Regions from separate parts of the Homo sapiens genome. Here regions 2, 3, 4, 5 and 6 are each linked to region 1. Evidence: promoter capture Hi-C in 16 types of primary human blood cells and fetal thymus (Javierre and others, 2016). All regions are on one chromosome and are shown on one strand. The core of a region is centred on a gene start or on the middle of the fragment in contact, and the rest is flanking DNA. Distances in the headings are between cores, read along the strand shown.

What was found. The method cuts DNA at HindIII sites, captures the fragments that hold promoters and counts their contacts. A CHiCAGO score of 5 or more calls a contact.
Region 2: the fragment with the promoter of MANEA here is called in contact with the fragment with the promoter of MAP3K7 in region 1 in 4 of 17 cell types (total CD4 T cells, naive CD4 T cells, total CD8 T cells and 1 more); the score reaches 9.5 in total CD4 T cells.
Region 3: a fragment that was not itself captured here is called in contact with the fragment with the promoter of MAP3K7 in region 1 in 7 of 17 cell types (fetal thymus, naive CD4 T cells, non-activated CD4 T cells and 4 more); the score reaches 12.5 in fetal thymus.
Region 4: a contact is called between a fragment that was not itself captured here and the fragment with the promoter of MAP3K7 in region 1, in 1 of 17 cell types (non-activated CD4 T cells). The highest score is 5.9, in non-activated CD4 T cells.
Region 5: a contact is called between a fragment that was not itself captured here and the fragment with the promoter of MAP3K7 in region 1, in 1 of 17 cell types (monocytes). The highest score is 5.1, in monocytes.
Region 6: a fragment that was not itself captured here is called in contact with the fragment with the promoter of MAP3K7 in region 1 in 1 of 17 cell types (naive CD4 T cells); the score reaches 5.6 in naive CD4 T cells.

The regions. Positions count from the first base shown.
Region 1 is chr6:90,585,148-90,589,111 of GRCh38, forward strand. It overlaps MAP3K7 (mitogen-activated protein kinase kinase kinase 7), which reads right to left and starts at 1,925. Exons shown (of 17, transcript NM_145331.3): 1 at 1,617-1,925. The coding sequence starts at 1,736. It overlaps LOC124901363 (a long non-coding RNA gene), which reads left to right and starts at 1,647. Exons shown (of 2, transcript XR_007059680.1): 1 at 1,647-2,808. RefSeq lists silencers at 1,745-1,864, 1,861-2,057. The HindIII fragment of the contact is 2,842 bases long and covers 1-2,356 here.
Region 2 is chr6:95,575,558-95,579,521 of GRCh38, forward strand. MANEA (mannosidase endo-alpha) reads left to right here and starts at 1,978. Exons shown (of 5, transcript NM_024641.4): 1 at 1,978-2,081. It overlaps MANEA-DT (MANEA divergent transcript), which reads right to left and starts at 1,894. Exons shown (of 3, transcript NR_104136.1): 1 at 1,536-1,894. RefSeq lists silencers at 1,718-1,797, 1,848-1,937, 2,218-2,277 and enhancers at 2,074-3,014, 2,478-2,577. The HindIII fragment of the contact is 3,606 bases long and covers 610-3,964 here.
Region 3 is chr6:87,152,914-87,156,877 of GRCh38, forward strand. It overlaps ZNF292 (zinc finger protein 292), which reads left to right and starts at 2,652. Exons shown (of 8, transcript NM_015021.3): 1 at 2,652-2,846. The coding sequence starts at 2,679. It overlaps LOC124901355 (translation initiation factor IF-2-like), which reads right to left and starts at 2,334. Exons shown (of 2, transcript XM_047419630.1): 1 at 2,063-2,334; 2 at 1-389. RefSeq lists enhancers at 2,190-2,349, 2,620-2,959, 3,471-3,964. The HindIII fragment of the contact is 3,192 bases long and covers 329-3,520 here.
Region 4 is chr6:87,401,822-87,405,785 of GRCh38, forward strand. No RefSeq gene overlaps it. Among named protein-coding and RNA genes, the nearest start is that of CFAP206, 4.2 kb to the right of the region's middle. The HindIII fragment of the contact is 1,468 bases long and covers 1,095-2,562 here.
Region 5 is chr6:87,477,176-87,481,139 of GRCh38, forward strand. It overlaps SLC35A1 (solute carrier family 35 member A1), which reads left to right. Exons shown (of 8, transcript NM_006416.5): 2 at 187-364. Among named protein-coding and RNA genes, the nearest start is that of SLC35A1, 6.2 kb to the left of the region's middle. The HindIII fragment of the contact is 966 bases long and covers 1,138-2,103 here.
Region 6 is chr6:87,584,226-87,588,189 of GRCh38, forward strand. The region is part of intron 1 of RARS2 (arginyl-tRNA synthetase 2, mitochondrial); the gene reads right to left. Among named protein-coding and RNA genes, the nearest start is that of RARS2, 3.8 kb to the right of the region's middle. The HindIII fragment of the contact is 2,536 bases long and covers 1,081-3,616 here.

The DNA.
Region 1 (3,964 bases), core at 675-3,174:
GTAAACTAAAATTCAAAGGGGTTAGGAAACTTGCCCCAAATCACACAGCTAATAAATGGCATATCTGATACACTGAACTTTCCTCTAACTCCAAAGACCTTGCTCTTTCCACCATATTATCTTGTAAAATGAGGATATTCTCAATAATCTCTAAAGTTACTTTATGTGATAAAACATATATAATTCAGTAATCCATTACTCTTCCAAAACATGCACAGGAAAAAAAATTTATTTGTTGAACGTTATCTCACTACTTTGAACTTGCTGACACTTAAAAATAATTTTAGAATTTTAAAGTAGACATAACTCGTTGACAATCTATAATATTTCACTAGGTTTTTCATGGACTATATAACGCAAAGTGCTTAATAAATTTAAAAAATGGCAAATAAATGGTAAGAGATAGTATTTTCAACCAAAGTTTTTAACAAGTTCTAAAGTGTCTTTAAAAAATATATATGCAGTTTTTACTTTTCTAAATTTTATAGTCATTAGAACCCAATTTACCTGTTAATTTGAAAAACGACGCTTTAAAGTCACTTTGAAATATCTTGTTCTAAAATAAATTACTGCAGAATAAAGAAAGGATATGGGTTTTCTGATAGCGATTTCTAGTCTAATATTATATTCTGATTGTCACCGAAATCATTCGTTATCTCTTCAGAATATGCTACTTGAAACATCTTTTGATCGTAGACCAGTCTATGTTACTTATGGTGAAATTCACCTACATTAGCCCAACTGAAAGCCGAGCATTTAAACATTACGAGTATTGCTGTGCGGTATCGGAGAAATTGAGAACCATTCGGTGCTAAGGGAAACACTTTATTAGACTTGATGATCTACTAATTTAACAAGCATTTATTGAGCATCCCCTACATGCCAGGTACTGAAGTAGAAGTCGAATATAATACAATCTTTGGCCATTAAGAACATTACGTCCGGCCGGGCCCGGTGGCTCACGCCTGTAATCCCAGCACTTTGGGAGGCCGAGGCGGGTGGATCATGAGGTCAGGAGATCGAGACCATCCTGGCTAACAAGGTGAAACCCCGTCTCTACTAAAAATACAAAAAATTAGCCAGGCGCGGTGGCGGGCGCCTGTAGTCCCAGCTACTCGGGAGGCTGAGGCAGGAGAATGGCGTGAACCCGGGAAGCGGAGCTTGCAGTGAGCCGAGATTGCGCCACTGCAGTCCGCAGTCCGGCCTGGGCGACAGAGCGAGACTCCGTCTCAAAAAAAAAAAAAAAAAAAAAAGAACATTACGTCCAGCGGACTGAAACTCCAGAACGGCTACGATCTTCGCTGAAACTACTACTTACAGATACGAGAACTGGTGGACCACACTATCTCACCAGTTCATTCTCCTGTTTATCACCGGAATATCAAATCCAAAATCAAGAGTACCCAAGAGAGGAAAAAAGGCAGCTACTCCCGAGCAGTTGAGCTCAGAGAGTAACCCCCACTCCCACGTTACTGAGGGCTGTGGGGTCTCCCGGGTGGACCCCGCAGGGTCCCGCGAATTAGAGGGGCCCCGGGAGGCACCTTCAGAGCCGGCACCAGGCAGAGGCGGGGGCGGGGCAGGCCGGGACCGGCGTCTCCATGCCGGGCCTCGCTCACCTCTTCCACCTCGATCTCCTTGTAGTCGATCTCTTCAAAGTTGAGGACCTGGGAAGGGGCTTCGATCATCTCACCGGCCGAAGACGAGGAGGAGGAGGAGGCGGCAGAGGCTGTAGACATGATCCCTCGCGGCGCCCGGTGGGGCCGGGAACGGTGCCACCCGGACAATCCGGGTGAGACCCGCGCCCACCCGCCTCCGGACCGACCCTCAGCCTGGAGCCGCGCAGTCCTACTACCCGGCGATCCGTGGCGGGGGTAGAGGCAGCGGCCACAGCCGTGTCCGGCTCTGGCTCCGCTGCGTTTTCCGCCGACGGGCCCCGCCCACTACACTTCCGGTTCCGGGCTGAAATCGGAAACAGGAGGAGGGCCGTAAACTCCGGGGTAGGGGAGGGGAGAATTTTGTGACTTGGAAAGAAAAGGAGGGACAGGTTGGGGGTGGGGTGGAGTAAGCTAAGAAGCAAACTTGGACCTCTAGAACAAATTTCGCGAGACCTTTATTACAGGGCCTCAGCAACCGGATGATACCGCGAGAGAGGACGCCTGACGTAATTAAAGTGCGCGAACGGAAGTGGCGCGGAACATGACGGAAAATCAGTACGGTTGGTCCCTTAAGGACCAGCGGGAAAGATAAAAGCTGGGGTTTAGTCTGTGCTGCGTGAAATATGTCTTGGCCTCACTTCCTGTCCTCTGAGCTGCCTGCAGCCGGGCGAGGTGGTGTTGAACTGTGTTTTTTGTGACGAAGCTTACTTTTAAGTTTCATCCCTAAACTAAGTTGACCTGTTTCTTTAAGACGGCTTGCAAAATGTGTTTTCCTCAATGTGGGATATGGAAAGAAGCAGTTGCTCCTGTTATTTTGAGCTAGTACCTGACGCTATGAGAAATTCTAAAAGAGCGAATCAGATCATGCAACATGAATAACTATGGAGGCTGAGTGATCAAGAACAGAAGTTAATATTTTGGTGTTACAAACTTTCCACGGATTAGGTGAATAAGATATTTATAATTTGGTGTGTTCATCTCAAGTTATGGATTACGAGTGCGGGGCACTAGTGCTTTAGATTGGTAAATGAATCATCAACAGTCGCCTTGAAAATCGAATATTTTTGTCACCATTTTCAGGACATGAGAAAACACGCTGAGAGTTTAAAGCAATTATGGTCCTCACAAACTAGATCATTCTGTCCCCAAGATGGTCAGTATTGCTCATGTTGTACTACCAGCACAAGTTTTAGTTTTAAACTAACTGTTGAATTTTATATAGTCCGTTTGACATAAAGCCTAACTGTGGAATTATGTTAAACACATTTGGGATTGCAAATAGATCATTGGATTTGACCATCAAGAAGTTACAAACTCCTGGGAAACATTCTGTCACTTTTTATTCGTAGTTCTAGTGACACGCAGTGACAGTTTGATGAGTGGATAAAAAAATGAAAGAAACGATAATTTCTTTTCACTGTACACTCTCTCTTTGCATGCTCTTACCCAAGGTCTCTGTTTCTCATACTATTTTTATAATGATGACTCCTAATCTCCAAATACTCAAGATTTTTCCTGAATTCTGGACCTATTGGTCATCTCTACTTAGACAAACACCTAAACTTCAAGATACCACAGCAAATTCAAAAGTTGTCACCCACCACAAATATATTCCTATGTTATTTTCCTATGTCACTTAAGGATGCCATCACCCAGTTGGTTGTCCAAGTGAGAAATCAGGGCATGTGAAATGATGCGTGGTGCACTGATACCCAGTAGAAGCTGATATAATCAGTGGGACAGTCATTTTCACCTGTCATTCCCCTTGCATTTCCAAACAAGGATGGTCACTTCTTACCTTGTGCTATAACTCTGCAGGTCTATATCCGATTTCCTTTTAACACCTTGATCTTGCTGCCAGGTGGGAACTCAATAAATACTTAGATATTCTGTACAAATGAATAGCTTTTGTCAGTCCTCCCTTTCCCTGGAGTGTAAGATATGTTTCCTGTACCTTCAGTTTAGGACTGGAATCTTGACAAAGGACTAATTAATTACCACAGCCATGATGCAGTTCTCCTGCTTGATTTTTCCCCCCAAAATTTTGTTACAAAAATGTCAAATATAGAGAAAAGTTGAAAGAATTTATGGTGAACACCTATATGCCCACCACCAGGATTCTACCTTTAACATTTTACTATACTTGCTTTATCATAATATACATATGTGCATCTCATCTCTCCATCCATATTTACATCCATCTACCATTTTGCTAGATGCATTTCAAAGTGAATTGATTACATGATTTTGAATATCTTCTACCCCAACACTTCTATGTTTTATCCACTGATTTGGACTTCTAATATTGA
Region 2 (3,964 bases), core at 728-3,227, 5.0 Mb after region 1:
TCAGCGAAGCTTCTGGAGATAGTACCAATATATTGAAATTGATGCTCTTTTAATACAATGTTACTAAACAATTAGAAAATAGAGTTTAAAGAGAGAGATCTCTAATTTTAGTAATAAAACTAGGAGGCAATATAATGAAAGATACTCAATAAATTACAAAGCATAGTAGCACATAAAGTACCTGAATAAAATAAATATACCATGTTCATAGATAAGAAGACATTTCACTAAATCTCTAAATGCAATTCTCAAGTTGAATAAAATGCCCAATTGAAATCCAATTTTTTAAATGGATCTTGGCTGGCTCATCCTAAAATTTCAATGAAAGAGTAAAGAGCCAAGTATAGTTAAGGCAATTTTAGACAAGAATCATTAGGAGGAGGGGTTTGCAAAATGTTTTAATACATAGAGTTGAGTGCATGGGTGTTCATTATATTATTATTTGTCCTTTCTGTGTTTAAAGTTGCTACAATTAAACTTTTAAACTTGTAGAAGAAAGAATAGTTTCTGATGTTATGTTGGGAAGAATCTTGTAAGCAAGAAAGCAAAAAGCACAAAATTAAAATGTAAAATATTATTAAATTCAAAAAGCTGTATACTGAAGCATAAAGCTTTTGGCAATCAAGAAACATCATAAAAACTGGAAAGACAGTCCATAAACTAAGAGAAGACATTTGCAACACATGTAACTTACAAGAGAGAATTAAACTAGAAAAAATAAATATTATCTACAAAATAATTTTCAAAAGCAAGCAATTTAATAAAAAATGAGATAAAATTAAGAACAGGCTTTAGCAAAAGGGAAAATGCAAATTAAAAGAGCAATCAGATGCTCTTATCAGCAAAAACTTAAAAAGTCTAACAATAGCATAAGGGTAACGATGTGCCAGTCTAGTTTATGGGAAATGGACTTGTATACAGACGAATCTCAAAACCTCTCAAAACCTAAATTAGTGAAAAAAGGGGAAAAATGAAGAATGATTCACATATGAAATATAAAACTAGGAAAATAGTATTTTTAGGGAATCGTACATATGTAACTATTTTCAGAAATACAACGGAATGAGTAATATAAAATTCAGCATAATGGTGAACGGAAGGAAGGAGATGTTTTTAGAGAGTCTTCTTTCTAGAAGACTCCAAAAATACTGGCATTTTTTTTTTCTTAAGCTCTGTAGTGGGTACCTGGGCATTTTTCATTCTTCTTTAAGATATGCACATGAGATATACTCATATGTATATTTCCCAATTAAAATTGGTGTACAAAATCTTTTTAAGGAGAGCCCTTATGAAACTGTTCACATCAGCAAGTTCTAGCTTGAATAAGGACTTCCTGTTACTATGTAACCAAACAAAAGATAGCATTTTCTTGTTTTCTGAAGCTAATGTAAGATGGAAACCTTCAGTTGTAATCCTATTTCAAAAGTTCTTGCTCTTCACATCTGACTTATCCTCAATTATTTCTAGTACTTCAGTACAGATGTGATTTTATAGAATACATTCGCAAATTAAAAACGCCATCTCCATCTGCCTACCTTGGGCTTCCAAGTAAAGTTCTATTTTTACAAAAATCAAAACAGTTCCTCAACTTTAAAAGTTTGAAAACCAGTGTACTTGTAAAGCACTTGATGCAAGCAACTTCTGAATGTTTCACATAAAAACAAACAAAAATGTGTCCTCTGTAATACAGTTAGAGCCTCCCAACAGAGCCTCAGAAGACCGTTTCTAAAGGCAGTGAGTTCTACTTGCAGAAATAGGGCGGGAGTGCAGTCTGACTCCAATCCACACGTCCTTCCCCTCTGACAGAACGCCCCAAAACGCAGTCCTCTCTTTCTTCCGCGCCGCTCCCGCCCTAGTCCTCTTAGACCCGCGACCGGAGGCTCCGGAAGACCCCGAGCCCCGCCCGCTCCGTGACCCCGCCCCCACCCGTCCCGCCCCTGAAAGCGCCCGGAACGCTGTGCGCGCGCCTTCGGGGAGGAGGGGCTGTCTGGGCTCGGGGCGCGGCGGCAGTCAGCTCTATGTTCGCGGTCTTAACCTCTCCTCTGGCCGAGTCCTTGCAAGAAGTGAATTACCCGACCCTGGTGAGTAGCTGCAGGAGTCAGACCTCTTGGAGGCGGCGGCGCCAGCAGCGGCGGCAGGCACGAGGTCCACCGCGGGCGCCTGCGCGCTCGCCCGCCAGCCAATCTGGTGGCCGCTTTCCTCCGGGCGCCCTTTGACCCGGCGCCCCTCTGGCAGGCGCTGGTGGCGCCCAGCGGCGAGCCTGTAGCCCCCTCGATTAACCTAGGCTGTCACTCTTAGGCCTGTTTTAGTCTGCGTTAGTTTTACTGCCTTTTACACTGCTTTATCCCCACCTCACTGGCCTCGTCGCCGCCTCCTCTTTGAAACGGTACCTCCTGTCGCCTCGGATTTTCCTTGTCTCCCCGACAAGGTGGAAATTTCGGGTCGGATGGAAGCCTTTTTCAGCACCTTCTCCTTGTGCCCCCAGACTGCCTCTGGGCCTTGAGCCGACCGGGAGAGTAGAAGGATCGAGGCCTGCTGGGCTCTGGGTGCAACGGAAAGGTAGCTGTCGCCTCTGGGCATCGGGAGGAGACCGCCCGATGGCGAGGCCGCTAGAGATGGTTTTTCAGTTCACCTGTTAACGTGTTTGGCACTGTCATCTTAGACTCTTAGCCTTTGCTAAGTCGGGATGCAACAGTGCTGGATTAGTGTTTTTGTTGTTCCTTTTTCCAAAGAAGCAACTTGAAGTACAGGCAGGTATAACTGTTTGGTTTTGTTGTTGTAAGACCCTACGGATAAGTGTTAGGAGAAAATGTGGAAGTGCTATAAAACAACAACAAGGGGGGGATAATGTTGATTAAGAACTTGAAAATAAGAAAAATGGGACTGGAATAGGCTGTTCACGTTAAAGTATTGAGGCAGTAGTTTGAAACAAAAATATAAAGTAAAACCTAGATATTGGTGATACTGTATCACGTTGTTTGCAAATCACTTTCATGACAATACATCTATTTCAGGTGTATCACACCTGAAAAAAACATGAGTGCTGTGAATTTGTGGATTTTCAGGCTCAATGCAGAAAAACACCCCCCAAAACAAAAAATCACAACAATGAAAACACCATTTCCAGAGCTGTTGCTGTTATTCGTGTGACGAATAGTGAATGTATGATCATAAAATAGAATAAGCTGTCTTTAGATGAAGTTTGGGCACAGTTTATGGAGTAGGTAACAGTTAATCATTGTTTATTAGGTACATAATCCTTAATTGAAAACATAACCATATAGCAGCAGCTTTCATCTTGTGTCACAAAAATAACTGGTGTATCCTCTAAATTTGATTTGTCTAATACCTTAAAGGAAGGCAGAATAGCATGGACAAGAACTTGAGTTCTTGAGCCAGACTCGATCTGCTCCTTGCTAGGTGATTAACCTTAGATTGGTTTCTTGGCCATTTGCTGGCCCAGAGATTTTTGAAAAAGTTACCAACTGCTCAGCTTCATCATTTGTAAAATGAGGTTAAAAAAAATTCTGCGGCCTGGCGCGGTGCCTCACGCCTGTAATCCCAGCACTTTGGGAGGCCGAAGTGGGTGGATCATGAGGTCAAGAGATCGAGACCATCCTGGCCAACCAACATGGTGAAACCCTGTCTCTACTAAAAATACAAAAATTAGCTGGGCGTCGTAGCGTGCGCCTGTAGTCCCAGCTACTCTGGAGGCTGAGGCAGGAGAATCGCTTGAACCCGGGAGGTGGAGGTTGTAGTGAGCCAAGATGGCGCCACTGCACTTCAGCATGGCAACAGAGTGAGACTCCATCTCAAAAACAAAACAAAACAAAACAAAAAACAGAAACTAAACCTCACTGAATTTCTGTTAACCAGAGGGTACAAGTGTTTACAATAAAACTGACCTGGGCAAGGATTGATTTTGAAACTGATTTTGAAAGTTCCAGATGTGTCTTCTAGTATT
Region 3 (3,964 bases), core at 675-3,174, 3.4 Mb before region 1:
GTAAATGGTTCCTATGAGCTGACAGTTTGGTATTTAAAGAACAAATGGACATAAGCACAGAAGTCATGACTTTTCTATGGATAAGATTGAGATTTCTGAGATTTCCAAGACAAGGTTGACCTGTCACGGGATAGTATTTTCAATCCTTCTCATTAAAAAAAAAAAAAAAAAAAAAAGCCTGCACTTATGTAGAGATTCGTTGGACATTCTTGTTAGTATCTGAGATTACTTTGATGTTCTAAGTTGAATACAGGCATGCATTTTCATAATAGAACATTTGTCATATCGTATGTATTCCCATTGCAGATCATTTTCCCACAAAACTGTAAGCTTCTTCAAGGCAGGAAGAGCTTTTATTCGCCTCTGACTTGTCCCAAACCAAGTAGTGCCTGCAAATATCAAGTACACAATAAATGAGTGTTAATTACACCACTCACCCCCAATCCTTACATTTCCTGTAGGCTCTAAATATTTCTATGTGTGTGCAAAGGAGAAGAAATGGAGGAATGTGGACATAGGGTTCACAGATACTAAATAAACATAAAGACATGGCCATCCATGCTGATGGACATTTACCAGATAGTAATGGTGCTCAGAATCAATTTGCTAATCAAGTCTCCATAGTTTTAGGGTTGTTATGTGCAAGAGGTAGGAATGACCTACATTATCAGGCAATTCTCTTAAAAATCAATATCTGGATATATATGTCTCCCACCCCTCAACCCCCATTTTTTCTTTCTTTCTATAGATTAGGTGTGGTGTAAACCATTATACTTGAAGTGGAAATGAGCTTGCTAACCTGTGATACCTTACCTTGGATTTACGGGTACATTTGGCTAACCTCATATTTCCCTTTTTGCATTTTTTCACTGGAATCCTAAGATAACATAAACTGGTGAAACCTGGTTTGGGTATCTAAAATACTTAACTTGGGAAAGTGAACTGAAAATATTAAAAATCATTAGCTGCCTTAATTGTTCCTTTTTCAACTCAGTGATACTATTATATCCTCTCTTCTCAGCCTTTGAATGTACTTCCCAGTCTCTTCCATGAGTAAACATTTGAAGATTAAACATTTGAAGATTCTACCTTGTTAATATGTAATATTAACTGATACTGTTTTTCATAAGGGGTTTAACTGTGCCTGGTCACCTTATATAATGCCGCTTTAAAAACATCACCATCACTGATGCGTTATAAAACATTTATTCTGGACAACATAGTATGTAGAACACTTTCCATTAATTACTAGAAATCTTTTGAAGAGGACGCTGCCCACAATGGGAAGTATTTTTATTTTAGATCCTTGTACTAAAAAAATATACTTCACTCAGAGTAAATGAAAAGACTGGGTGCCTCATCAATATCATTGTTTCTAAATTTCTGTAGACTATTCAGTTGCAAGAGAGATAGGTCTTTTGTCTAATGCTCTAACGGTAAAAAAAATATTAGTTTTATTAAGAACTTTAGGGTTAAGCTCTTGGATTTTTGTAGCACCTCTTCTACTCTTTTGTTCAAGTGCCAAGTATTAATTCTTTTCAGCTTGTAAGTAAAATGTGGTTCAGAATGCTACCTCTATTTGTAGCATTAGGAAAAAAAAATGCTGTAGATATTTATAATAATTCTCGACAATATTGTTTTATTTTAGCATCAATTTCCTCTCCTCCGTTATGATTTTTAATGGAGTCCTTATTGGTGTTTTTTTTTTCCTTGACCTACTTTCTTTTCAATAGCTTTCATATATAGCCTGTTGTCATTGTTGGTGATTTCTGTAGAGTGTAGTAGAGTCTAAATCACGGTGAAACAGAGTAGTTAGTTATCACTTATTCTAGAAATGTTTTCGTGGTTTAAAAGTCATCTGGTCTGTTCATATTCTGACTTCTTTTAAACTATGCTTTTCATGAATTTGCTCCGTTCTCCAGACTGAGGATTGAACCTCATTCTGCTCTGACCCAATTGTTCTTTTCCTTTGTTGCCTCCACCCCCTAGAGAATGTGTTTCCAGGGGACAGGCGTTCTTGGTGCTGAAGAGGAGGAGAGTCAAGTGAGACGAGATCTGGTACCTCACGCACTAGATCCCTCCTCTCCGGCCTGGTGAGAAGTCAGAGACAATTTTGACAGTTCATAGTCCTGCCTTGGCTCTCACGCTTGCGGTCCATGGGCGGGTTTTACCTTCTCTCTCTTCCTCTGCTTCTGGCCTGCTTACAGGCCAACAGCAAATGCAGCCATTGCCCGAGACCACTCAGAACTCTCCCTGTGCCATCCTCTTGGGGAACAGGAGGATATGTCCGTAGAAGACTTCGTGGACTGGGGAAAGCCACGCCGGGATCGGGACGCCGGAGAGGGTCGCCCCTCCCTAGGCTTTTTCCCGTCGCGGCGCCCACGTGACCGAGAGCAGGCCTTCACCAGCCCGCCCCTTTCGGCCGCTGCTGCCCACTTCCCGCTCGGGGTAAGTAAACCGCCGTTTTCCGCACCGCCCCAACCCCGCCCTTCTCCTTTCCCCTTGCCTTCACCTCCCTCGGGCTCTCTCGCGCCACTCTCCCCACCCCCATATCTTCCCCATCGGGCCCTTTGTACGTGCTCGGCGCCGTGCAAGCGCGCCCGGCACGTGACCCCGCCGAACGTGGCATTGTGTTATCACGTGACCCAGGTGCGTACGCGACGGAGCGGGGTGTGAAGATGGCGGACGAAGAGGCCGAGCAGGAGAGGTTGAGTTGCGGCGAAGGCGGCTGCGTCGCGGAGCTGCAGCGCCTGGGCGAGCGGCTCCAGGAGCTGGAGCTACAGCTGCGGGAGAGCCGGGTACCGGCCGTGGAAGCGGCCACCGACTACTGTCAGCAGCTGTGCCAGGTGAGGGCGCCCGGTGGTCCCCTCCCCCTTTCCCCAGCTAGAGGGGGAAGAGGGCGAGCGAGCGCTAGGCGGCCGAGAGGTGGTCGCCGCTTCCTTGGCATCATCGGCGCCTCCGCCTGGGTGGGAGCGGGAGTAGAAGGAAGGCGCCTTTGTGTGGCTGCAGTTGTGGCGGTTGTTGTCGTCTGCAGCTCCTGGCTGGGGGAAGGGAGTTGCGGTCAAGGCGGAAAATCCCCCCTCCCCTTTCCTTCCCTGAACTCGGGACTGCGCGGTCCCCGCGGCTGAGGAAATGTACACGGTGCGGATTGGAGAGAGTAGGAGAATGGAGGCCAGGTTCTCTTCCTCCTCCTCCTTTTATTGTGCACTGGGGATTACCGCGCCTCCCGCCTCTGCGCCTCTGCTTCCCACTCCGACGGGCCTCCGCCCCCACTGGTTTGATTCCTTTGCCTTCCCCTGCTTTCATCCGTCCCGCCCCCCAGCCCCGGCCCTGTCCTGGCTGTCTCCGGGCCTTTGTTGTTCGAGTTTCGCCTTAGGACTGAAGGGGCCTTTGTTGATGTTCGGAGGAGCAGTCCCCGCCGACCCCTTCTAGTTGAGCTAGACGTTCGGGAGGGGGTGCTTGGCGGAGGTTGTCCCCTCCTGCCCATACTTGCTTGCTTGGTGCATCACTTCTGTGGTAAAGCTTTATCTCCTTAGTGTAGAGGAGCTGTGCCTGTACATCTGTCTCAGGTTGAGTGTCCTTTTGGGGCGGTTTTTCCAGAGTCCGTTTCTCATTTGCTTTCGCCCTTCGAGGAGTATGATTTCCACTATCCTTTCTGTCCCGATCACCCCCTCACCCCTGTTTCTTGGAGTCCTTCCTATTTGGCTTCCTGATGAAGTGGGAGAAGACTGAGGTTCATGTGGATCTGTGCTTTGGGTAGTTTCAAATCTTTTCTTTGCTTGCCCAAGGGCACTGCTCACCAGTGACTGCATTCTAACCAGAATTTGGAATGTTAATAACACTGTTTGCTAGTGATGAAAATCATTTCATCCATGGTGAAAATCGGAGAGTTTGGGACTACATTTGCACTTCATTACGAGCCTTACACTTAGGTTTAAAATTTCAAGGTAGTGTTGCTGGCTCT
Region 4 (3,964 bases), core at 579-3,078, 3.2 Mb before region 1:
GAAAAGTAGATTTTTAAGGGTTAGACAGGACCCTTGAACTCAAGAAGCTATGCTATGTTTGTATCAGGAAACGAAACTATCTGCTTTTTTTTCTGCCTTTTTGTATCTGTGCCCATGTAAATAACATTTGAAAAAGAATCTCCATGAAGAAGATGGTTAAGGAATAATCTTGTGATCCTCCTGACTAAAAGGATATGGGAAAGTACAAGAAAATAGCTCATGCTTATCCTAAGAGAAACGGAAATAAGGGTGACTTGCATTGTCTTACTTGTTCCATAATTTCTTTCTCATTATTGACCTGAAATCTCAACTTCCCTCTCCGTTATCAAGCCTTTTTGTGGAGAAGGAAAGATAAACTGGAAAAGGAGATTGTCAGCTAATTCCAGGACTCTGACTTTCACAGTTTCAAAATCGATGCCCTACATGTAATATACAGGTTGTGTTTTTTTTAAAAAAGGAGAGCTGTTGTGAAGCACATGGATAATAATGGAGAAAGACAATGAAAACAAAGTGAATAACACAATATATATTTTTTTAACTTTTGAGGATTTTTTAGGAATACAGCTCTGTTTTAATGCTTAACATCCACAAAGCACAACTAAAAGTAGAGAAGTTCTATATTATTGAGCCTTTATTTTTTATTATAAAACATATACAGAAAAGTCAGTGTAACATATATATTTATATATACATATATACATATGTGTATAAATACATATGTATATATACGTATGTGTATATGTGTATATATGTACATATACATACGTGTATGTGTATATGTGTATATATGTACATATACATACGTGTATGTGTATATATGTACATATATGTATGTATATGTGTATATATGTATATATCTATACAGTTAAAAAATTATAAAGTGAATAGCCATGTAACTACTATCTAGATGCAAGTTAAAAACTAGAAATTTTTTTTTCCCACCCTGTCTTACAGTGCTGAAAAAATTAGAAATTTTAAACCAAGAGTACACTGCCACTTGCATGAACTTCAGGGAATCTGTATATTATCTGAAATTATATATAAAATTAGGGGCTCTATGAATTTTTTGGGAAAAAGAGTCTAGAATTTTCAGAAGCTTAAAAGAATTCCCCTCATTTTAAGTACTTATAAGAGCAATAAGACTTAAGATGGCTCCGTAACTTAGTAGCTTTGCAGTCTTAGACTAGTCTCTTGCTCTCTGAATATTGATTTCTATATCTGTAAAGTGAAATAATAATGTTCACTCTCATGAGGCTGTTTTAAGGAACAGATGAGTTATCTATCTGTGAAATAGCTTTGTAAGCTCCAAAGTACTCTTTCAAATGTTAATTATCTATCTTTGTTAGCAACTGAAAAATTTAGCTTAGATCTTCACAATATCTAAAGAACTGCTGGCTGGGCCGGTGGCTCATGCCTGTAATCCCAGCACTTTGGGAGGCCAAGGCGGGCAGATCACTTGAGGTTAGGAGTTCAAGACCAGCCTGGCCAACATGGTGAAACCCTGTCTCTACAAAAAATACAAAAATTAGCTGGGCATGGTGGCACATGCCTTTAGTCCCAGCTACTCAGGAGGCTGAGGCAAGAGAATCACTTGAACCTAGGAGGTGGAGGTTGCAGTGAGCTGAGATTGTGCCACTGCATGCTAGCCTGGGTGACAGAGTGAGACTCTGTCTCACAACAAACAAACAAACAAAAAAACTAGTAAATTGCTTTTGTTGCTCTACATTGGTTTAAATGCATGGTCTAGCATGATAATGCTAGTCTGGCAATACGCTAGTTCCTGGTCAAGCCAACCATTCTTCAAGATCATGCTTGCTCCTGAGCTGCTGAATAATTTCCAAAGAAAATCACTTAACATGGCAAAATGCTTTCACTTTAAATTCATGATCCTGACACTCAGATGCACATTCATTACTTCTCAGTAATTACTGAAAGTTACTGAAAGTTTCTAGTAAGCCCACCCACTCTTCTACCCTCCCAGATGGTTATTTCCTATTAGCCTCTCTCCAAGGTTACCCAAGGTTCCACTTCTGACCATGATGGAATAACAAGGACTGGACTTAACTTCCTACCACAAACAACTAGAAAACTGGGCAAAATATATAAAACAACTGTTTGCTATTATTGCCCCCAAATTTCTGCCTGGAGGCAGTTTCCAGATCCTGGGCATAGAAAGGTAAACCCACTGCCTAGGGACTTTATTGAGTTGAGGAGACAGAGATCAGAGTTCACAGATGTGGAAATTGAAGGGCAAAGTTTTGGAAGGGATGAAGCTATACAAATAAATAAATAGAATTCATAAATCTGAGACTTTGCTAAGTACTTGGCTGTTCATGTATGGATTGACAATCCACACAGTCGAGCACAGAATGACCAGGGAGTATAAGCTAAATAATTCTTAGAGCTCACAGAGGATGAGAAGACATTTGAGCTCTGACCAGCCAGAGTGAAGAGTCCTCAGTGAAAACCAAGGAATTCATTGAAGACCTCTGAGCAGTTATTAATTAGTAGTAAGGTCAAATTATTTCTGGAATGAAGACTACTCTAGACCTACCCTAATAAAGCTTAAAAACAGTCCACAAATGAATCAAACTCATCCACAAATAACTGGCTGAAAAAAACAGCACAACCCTTCCTAAAGGGGGACAATTCAGACACTGAACAAGGATGCAATTCACAACGTCCAGTATTCAATAAAAAATTATTATTATTTTTTGTTGTTGTTGTTTGTTTTTGAGACGGAGTTTCGCTCTTGTTGCCCAAGCTGGAGTGCAATGGAGCGATCTCTCGGCTCACTGTAACCTCCGCCTCCCAGCTTCAAGCAATTCTCCTGCCTCAGCCTCCCGAGCAGCTGGGATTACAGGCGCCCGCCACCGTGCCCAGCTAATTTTTTGTATTTTTAGTGGAGACGGCGTTTAACTATGTTGGCCAGGTTGGTCTCAAACTCCTGACCTCAGGCGATCCACCCACCTTGGCCTCCCGAAGTGCTGGGATTACAGGCGTGAGCCACCGTGCCCGGCTCAATAAAAAATTATTAAACATGCTAAGAAGCTCAACTCATTTGAGCTTAAAACTTCTTAAAGCCTGAGGAAAAGGAAAAATATATAATTCTCTCTTTAAATGTTGAACAGTTTGTGACATATTAAAGATACTTAATCAGAAGAAATTAATTCTACAATATTCTTAAAGGCAATCTTTTAGCTTTTAGATAAAAAACATTTGATAAAATGGGTTTCACTTCTTCTAGGATGACTTCCATCACAATTCTATTTTAAGACTGTTTTATGTAGATTTGTAATCTGGTGTTTTGAAACAACATAAAACTTGGTTTCTCTTTTAACAAAACTGAGAAGAGTTCTCATGCCTTCTTTTTCTCAAGGTAAATATATCCAGTTCTCTCTATCTTATTCTGACAAAATTTTTCTTATTCTCTGGATGCACTCTGGTTCCTCCGTGTTTTTTAATTAAATGCCATTGCTGCCGTGTTAAAACTAGGAACAAATAGTTCTACAAAGACTAGAAGTCCAATAAACCATGGGAGTATAAAATATATTGTCATAGTTGATGTTGTCAATAATAACCATGATAAAGGTCATAAAATACTAGTTTCTAAAATTTATGAATCCTTTTATCTATGTCAGATGCTGTGCTAAGTGCTTCATGACGGCTATCTCATTTTACTCTCACAACTCCACGAGATAGATACCATTGTTTTGTTTTATAAATGAGAAATTTAAATCACTGAAAGGTTTATAAATGAACTCTTTCCACACTTATACTGTATAATAAGCCACTCAAAAACTCAGCGGTTTAAAACAATACTCATTCATTATCACACATCTACAGGTTGACTGGAGTTTGGCTGATCTAGGCTGGGCCCTAGTTGGGCATCTCTGCATCTTACTAAAAGATCGGTTCAGGCAATTCTGTGCCATATGCATGTGATTCTGGGACCAAAGAGCTT
Region 5 (3,964 bases), core at 371-2,870, 3.1 Mb before region 1:
TGTGTGTGTGTGTGTGCACGCTCATGTAATTGGCAAACATTGTTTTGAAAAAAATTTTTAAGCATGAGTTTTAGAAAATATTTTGTGCTTGGAATTGGAAAGTATTTTTAGGCTATAACTAGTTTATTAACTTATATATACATATATTGTCTACTAAGTAATGTCTTTGTTGCACGTATTTTCCAGACAATGTCACTTTATTATTCAAGTTATACTGCTTGGCAGTGATGACCCTGATGGCTGCAGTCTATACCATAGCTTTAAGATACACAAGGACATCAGACAAAGAACTCTACTTTTCAACCACAGCCGTGTGTATCACAGAAGTTATAAAGTTATTGCTAAGTGTGGGAATTTTAGCTAAGTGAGTATAAATACTTATAGTGTGTTAAATTATTTTTCTACCTGGTGAGGGTATTTGTTAGAAAATTCAAGCTACATCTTTATATGTTTAATTGCTCTGGGTCAGTGTTTCTCAACTAGGGGTGATTTTGCCCCCCAGAAGATTTTTTAGTTGTCACAACTTGAGAGATGCTACTGGCATCTAGTGGGTGGAGACCAAGGATGCTGCTAAACATCCTGCAATCCCCATGACAGCCTCACAACAAAGATTTATCCAGCCCCAAATGTCAGTACTGCTGAGGTTGAAGAACGCTGCTGTAGAATAGAAGTTGGCAAACTATGTCTCATGGGCCAAATCCAGCTTGCTCCCTGGTTTTGGTGTAATGGAGACTGACTGGCTTGCAAAGCCTAAAATATTTACTGTTTGGCCCTTACAGAAAACAATTATTGACTTGTGTTTTGGATGAATATAATAATAATAACATTTCTTGAGTGTTTCCTATGTTAAGTGCTAGGCACTGTGCTATGTGTTTTTTGTGTTTTCTCATTTACTTCTTCCACATTTTCAAGGTAAGTACTTTACCCCTGTTTTATTGACGCAGCATCTGAGGTTCCTTAAGATTACACTGTTAATATGTGGCAGCACCGGGCTTTGAATCAAAAACATCATGCAAGAATTGTTTAGCTAAGGATGTGGTATAAGAGAGGGTTAAGAATTAGGGGCATTGGAGGAGATAGACCTAATTTTAATCCTAGACTGAGATTGTGGCTGCATACACACTTGTAACCTCTTTAAGCTTCAGTTTGTTCATTTTTTTAATTTGAGAAAATAATATGGGGTGCTGAAAATTAAATAAAATCTAATAGGTAAATTACCAGGGGAAAGATTTATGAGATGGGGACCTATAGGAGTCATTGGGGCAGTTAAGAAGTCATACAGGTTTCAAGATGTGTGTTGGTGAGTGAAGGGAAGCAGGGAGGAATAGTGTTGTGTGTAGGCTTTTATGTAGAAACAGACATTACATTTAAATATTGAAATGTTACACGACATTGTGATTGCTTCAGCTTCAGCAGTGTGTGATGAGACAGTTGATAATGCAACTGCAAGCATGGCTATCATTTTGGGAAAGATACCGAGTGAAAGTGTTGAAAATTGGTTCTAGATCTTGAAAAGGCTTATACTAATCCACTTGAAGTAGTTCGAATATGAAAAATATGTGTTATAAATAAAGTTTCAGTGCCACACACAAAAAAACAGCACTCGAATACAAAATTTTCTTTTTTTCTTCTCAGCAAGGCAGTTTTCCTTCTATAGAAGGGTGTGCCCTCACAGATGGAGCAATGGTGAGCGCACACCTGGACAAGGGAGGAAAAGGGGACTTATTCCTTATGCACGTGGCCTCTATGGCTCTGTCGTTCCCCTATTGGCTAGGGTTAGACTGCACAGGCTAAACTAATTCCAGTTGGCTAATTTAAAGAGAGTGATGGGATGAGTGGTTTGGCGGGAAAAATGGTTATGGCAGAGCAGGAAATCGGAATGAGTCAGGGTGGAGAGGGTAATCAGAAAAGGTTGCTTTACGAGGAAGTTAAATTTAAAAGTAGAAGGCAAAGAATTGAACATACTGACATACTGATTCTTCGAAGAGAAATTTAGAACTCATATCTAACAATCCCCTCCTCTTGCATTTTCCTTACACCTCTTTCTCTTCAAACTTCTTTAACATGCCTTGGCTTAGTTCTGCTCAATTTTCCGAAAGAAGAAGCTTCTCTGGATAAGGTGGAGGATAGTTAAGGGAGGTTTTAGTAAGTGCCATTTCTATGAGCACTTACTCTGCACCAACCCACAGATGCATGGTATGACACAGCACCCGACAAGAATAAGTACACCCATTACAGCTGTGAGGGAAGTAAGAATTGAGGCTGTTATTCCTTTCCATTTACCGAACCACTTTTCTAGCCATCCTGTAAAGGGGTCATTTACCCCTGAGCTGCTGGCTAACTCATTGGACAGAGCAGTCAGACCTTGCAATGCCTTTGTTATACTTCCATTAGGGGCAGTGTTGTTTGGGATGAAGGCACAACATTCAGTTTTAATCATGATGCAAACTCCTCCTCTTTCTGCTAATATCATGTCTAAGGCTATCCTATTTTCCCAAGCCATCTGGCAGTTAGTCCCTAATTGCTCAGCTATTCCTTTAACAGCATCTCTAGTGTAGTTCATAAATTGCTGTTGGTTATAATAGATGTAGTTTATCCAATCTATGTTTTTATTAATTGTGACCCACCAAAATATTGACTCAAATCCTGCAGCTATTTGATTTCGGGCTTTAAATTGATCTGGTATTCCCCGTGGGACTCCAATTGCATCTAAATAGACATGAGAGTTGAATGACCTATAAGGAGCTTCTCTCACTTTATGATGTCTTATTTTTCCTTCCTCTGGTTGATGAAATGCCAGAGTAAAAGGGATAGCCAATTGAACTAGAGCATAACTACTGCTCTAATTATTTGGCAGAGTGTCCAGTAAAGGTCCTCCATAATACCACCATACATCCGCTCAGGGATGAATAAGGGCAGATTGACGGGTCACCTCTTGGAAGTGCCTAACTTCACTGCATCCTGTTAAGTCTCCAAGAAATGCCAAATTTTTCCCCGTGTCGTTAGAGACACGAGGTAAAATTGGTTTTGGAAGATGGAGGCTGGATGGCCCTTGGGGGCTGACCTGCAGGGTGTTGGACTTCAGGAAATAGCAGAGAAAGAGCTTAGCACAATTTGTTATTCCAGGCAGTAGAATCTTGAAAAAGCTACCATGCACTCCATGTCCACTTGATTTGAGGACCATCCCAGTGGAAAGGTAACAACCTGGGCCTCTAGCCTACCGTGCACACAAGTGTAACAGTTACTTTTGTTTAAAGTGTGAATGGAATATTTAATACATTTTAACCAGGCATTTACATCTTTATACCCTGTCAATAGCTATGGTTTGCCTTAGGTCTCCTATTTCTACTACTGAGACCTTGCTTTTGTCATTTGGCATGAGGCGAGGCATAGTTTTATTTCGTAGGTTTGTGAAAGGGGCAGTTGTAGGAGGTAGAGCAGGGAGAACAAAGCGCATCTTAAAGAAGCCTATAGGGTCCTTTCCAGTGACTTCTGCTCCTAAACCATAGAAACGCTCTAAAGTGGGGTTAGAGTTGCTAGTGGTAGGAACAGTAATGGATATAGGCACTGTGTTAGGAAAGGAAGGAAAAGATAGATAGACTAAGCTTTTCTTAGCTTTAATTTGGTAAGGCTTGATCCAGGAACAATGGTCCATGATTCTGATGGTAATGGTGCTTGCTTGACTCGGGTGTGATGTGTCCATCCCCCTTCTGTGGTACAAACCATAGTCTTGGTGGTTAGCAGCACAAGGTAGGGTCCTTCTCAGGCTGGCTTGAGTTTTCCTTCTTTCTACCCTTTGATGAGGGTGTGATCCCCAGGCTAGTGCCCGTTTACCAGAAATTCTAGGGGTGGTACCTGTGCTAAAAGACTTGTAGTTTTGAGGGAAAGGAAAGTGGAAGATAAACCAAGTATATAATTTATGAGAAACTGATCTTTTGTTTTAAATTTGGGGACACCAGGCTGG
Region 6 (3,964 bases), core at 1,099-3,598, 3.0 Mb before region 1:
ACACACAAAATATGTTGATACTGTGGCTACTGCTATTGCTATGAATAGTAAAATCCTTTTCCCTCATTCAGGGGTCTGATGTTTTCTGCTACCATCCATGGAACAGTGGTAGAAACTTAAGAGGGTAAAATCACAGACCCTTTGCAACTCCTGACATTAAGCACTGTTATCTTTATCTCATTACATTTTATTAATAGCCCTATAAAGCAAAGCAAAATACGGCACCGTACAAGTGAGGTATCCCATAAATAGTAGTTATTATAATCTTCAACATCATTATTAATCCTTGCAGCAATCCTGTAAACTTGGAATCAAAACCATCATCTTACAGCTGACTTGCCAAGAGTTAGTTACACAAATAGTGAAGCTAGAATTCTAATCCTTCCCACCATTATTAAGTGCTCCATGGTAAGCAGGTCTATACAAATCTACCCTCAAAAGACTGAGGATGCTGAGAGACTGAAGAAAGCAGCTGACAAACCCAGCTTCTCAGAAAGAAACATTTAATATGGATTTATGAACAGAAGTCATATCTCAGGAAGCTAAGAGACAAGATGATGAATCCTTGTGCAGTTATCTACCCCAAGACCCAGGGCTTCTCTATGGTATATACCATAGAGAAGGGGTAACCATGCTTCAGAAGGGATGTCTAAGACAACCGAAGTCAACCCCTTAGAAAAAATCAAGAATGCTATGTCATAGCCTATCATTTGCTTAAGGGCAAGAATTATAAATCCTGTCCTTAAGTACTATAAACAGTAAATAAAATAGAAATCCTGCCCTTAAGTACTATAAACAGTAGATAAAATAGAAATCTTACAGGTATTCCTGGAACTGGGGATAATCAAAAGTCAACATGGCAGATTAGCATCCAAGATGGAGTTCCTTTAGCCACCACACCACGTCATCTCCATAGATTTAAAATTATGAACTCATTCAGTGAAGCTGCATATTTTATATGAGATCACAACAGAGATACTCAGGTATTCATTCTTCAAATACACATTAAACACTTATGTTTCGGGCACTTTGCTGGTGCTGAGGAAATAAGAGTGAATAAGACATGTTCTGTCTTCATGAAGCTTATAGAGGAAACAGACACTAAAACAAGTAAAACAAAACAATTACTCTTATTATTGTCATCATAGAAGCAAACAAGGGACTAAGAGAACTAGAGGACACACTTTTCAAATTATAGGTTGCCAGTTAGAAATAAATTCCTTTGCCTGGCGCGGTGGCTCACGCCTGTAATCCCGGCACTTTGGGAGGCTGAGATGGGTGGATCATGAGGTCAGGAGATCGAGACCATCCTGGCTAACACGGTGAAACCCCGTCTCTACTAAAAATACAAAAAAATTTAGCCGGGTGTGGTGGCGGGCACCTGTAGTCCCAGCTACTCGGGAGGCTGAGGTGGGAGAATGGCGTGAACCCAGGAGGCGGAGCTTGCAGTGAGCAGAGATCACGCCATTGCACTCTAGCCCGGACGACTGAGCAAGACTCCATCTCAAAATAAATAAATAAATAAATAAAAATAAAAATAAATTCTGTTGAGTCCCAACCACCAGTCTTAAAAAATACGTATAAAACAGGACAGAATACAGTATAAATAAGTATTGTTTCATGAAACTTTCATCGTGCATAAAGAGTGATAGTATAAAATGCATTTCTTTTAGGCACAAGGAATAATCTACGCAATGGGAATGGAAAGACCCTGCTATGTTAGAAAAACAAATTAACATTGTAGCTAGGTTCCTACAAAAATGATAGAATGGGGCATGAATGGAAGTTGAAGAAGTTAAGGTTCTGGTAGAGACTCGTGCAACAAAGAAAGATAAGTGATATGATTTGATTCACAATTTAGATGTCACCTTTCTTGATACATGGAGAATGAACTGGAGGGAGGGCAAGAATGGAAACAAACACCCCATCAGAAGGCTGTTGTAAGCAGTCAATATAGGTGATAATGGGGGCTTGGTGTGGAATAGAGAAAGGAGAGGGGGAGGCAGCAGCAATAGTGTAGATGGATTCAAGATATAAAGATAAAATCAACAGGACTTGCTGAAGAAAGGAATCCAAATATTGTGATTCTATGTACATATCATGCTTTCCAGATGTCTGTGTCTATGCACATCCTCCTCTTGCAATACCTGACCTCTCCCCAAGCTCTCACTCTATTTACTTGGCACACTCCTACCCATATCCCTTTCAAAACTGAGACCTAACATCACCTTTCTACAAAACTTTGTCTGACCCTTAGGAGCTTTCAAGTTCCCTTGGCACTTTGCACATGCTTCTAATACAGTGATTACAGGCTGCAATGCAATTACCGGTTTACATCGTTTTCCAAGCATGTCTGAGGCCATTTCAGGGCAGAAACTATTTTCCGTTCACTTTTAGCCTTGGGACTGATGACAGTGCTTAGAAAACTGTCGACTAATTAATCAAAGTTAGCTAAATGCATTTGCCATTGCACGTTACACATTCCTTCATTCCTAAACTATTATAGCAAAACGATGCTCATTCGCAAAGGTATTAAATACAGGCTGGGTATCCTTGGGACCACAAGTGTTTCAACTTTTGAATTTTTTCAGATTTTGGAATATTGGCTTTATACTTACCTGTTGAGCATCCCTAAACTGAAAATCTGTGGGGTTGGTTATTTATTTATTTATTTATTTATTTATTTATTTATTTATTTTTTGAGACAGGGTCTTGCTTTACCACCCACGCTGGAGTTCAGTGGCACAATCTTGGCTCATTGCAACCTCCACCTCTCAGGTTCAAGTGATCCTTCCACCTCAGCCTCCCAAGTATCTGGGATTACAGGAGGGTGCCACCATGCCCAACTAATTTTCTAATTAGTTTCCCAGGCTGGTCTTGAACTCTTGGGCTCAAGTGATCTGCCTGTCTCAGTCTCTCCAAGTGCTGGGGTTATAGGCATGAGCCACCATACCCAGCTCCTAATCTGAAAATCTGGAATTCTCCAATGAACATTTCCAATTTCCAATTGAGCTCCAATGAACTCAATGAACATTGAGTCTCATGTCAGCACTCAAAAAGTTTCAAATTTTGGAGCATTTCAGATTTCCAGCTTAGGGATGCTCAAACTGTACGGAACATGTTTTTTCTTTGCTCTTTTTTCCCCATGTCCTAACGTATTGAAAATATTATTATTTATCCTCAAGTTTCAGATCATTCCCCAATGACTCTATATTCAGAGAAATACATATATATCTGCATAATTTACACTGCTGTATAAATCCATTAGATTCTGTTCAATGATTGGACTGTGCTTCTTGCTTTCACAAAGAGCACAGTATATAGGAAAGATCTAATTTTAAAGTTAGAGTTCTGTTCATAAACCAACTCTACAATGTATTGATGATGTGGCTTTGGGTAAGTTATTTAATCTCTGTGGATCTCAACTGACTCAATTATATAATAAGGTTAATACTTCTATATCACAGGGTTGCCATGAGCTTAAATGTGAATGTGTAGTAACTAGCACAAATATATACTCAATATATTAGTTCTTGTTTCTCCAACTTATCTTTTTCTTTTTTTTGAGACAGGGACTCACTTTGTCCCCCAGGCTGAAGTGCAGCGGTGCAATCAAAGCTTGCTAGTTTCAGCCACCTGGGCCCAAACGATCCTCCCACCTCAGCTTCCCAAGCAGCTGGGACCACAGGTGTGTGCCACTACACCTAAGTTTTGTTTTTTATTTCTTTATAGAGATGGGGGTCTCCCTATGTTGCCCAGGCTGGTCTTGAACGTCTCAGTTCAAGGGATCCTCCCACCTCGGCCTCTCAAAGTTCTGGGATTACAAGTGTGAGCCACCATGCCTGGTCCAATTTACAGTCTTTACAAAGAACACAGCCTTTGCAAAACTAAACACAATTTGTTTCTCATCATGGCACTATCTTTACTTAAGGGCTAAGAATGGAAAACGTCCACCCTTACACAC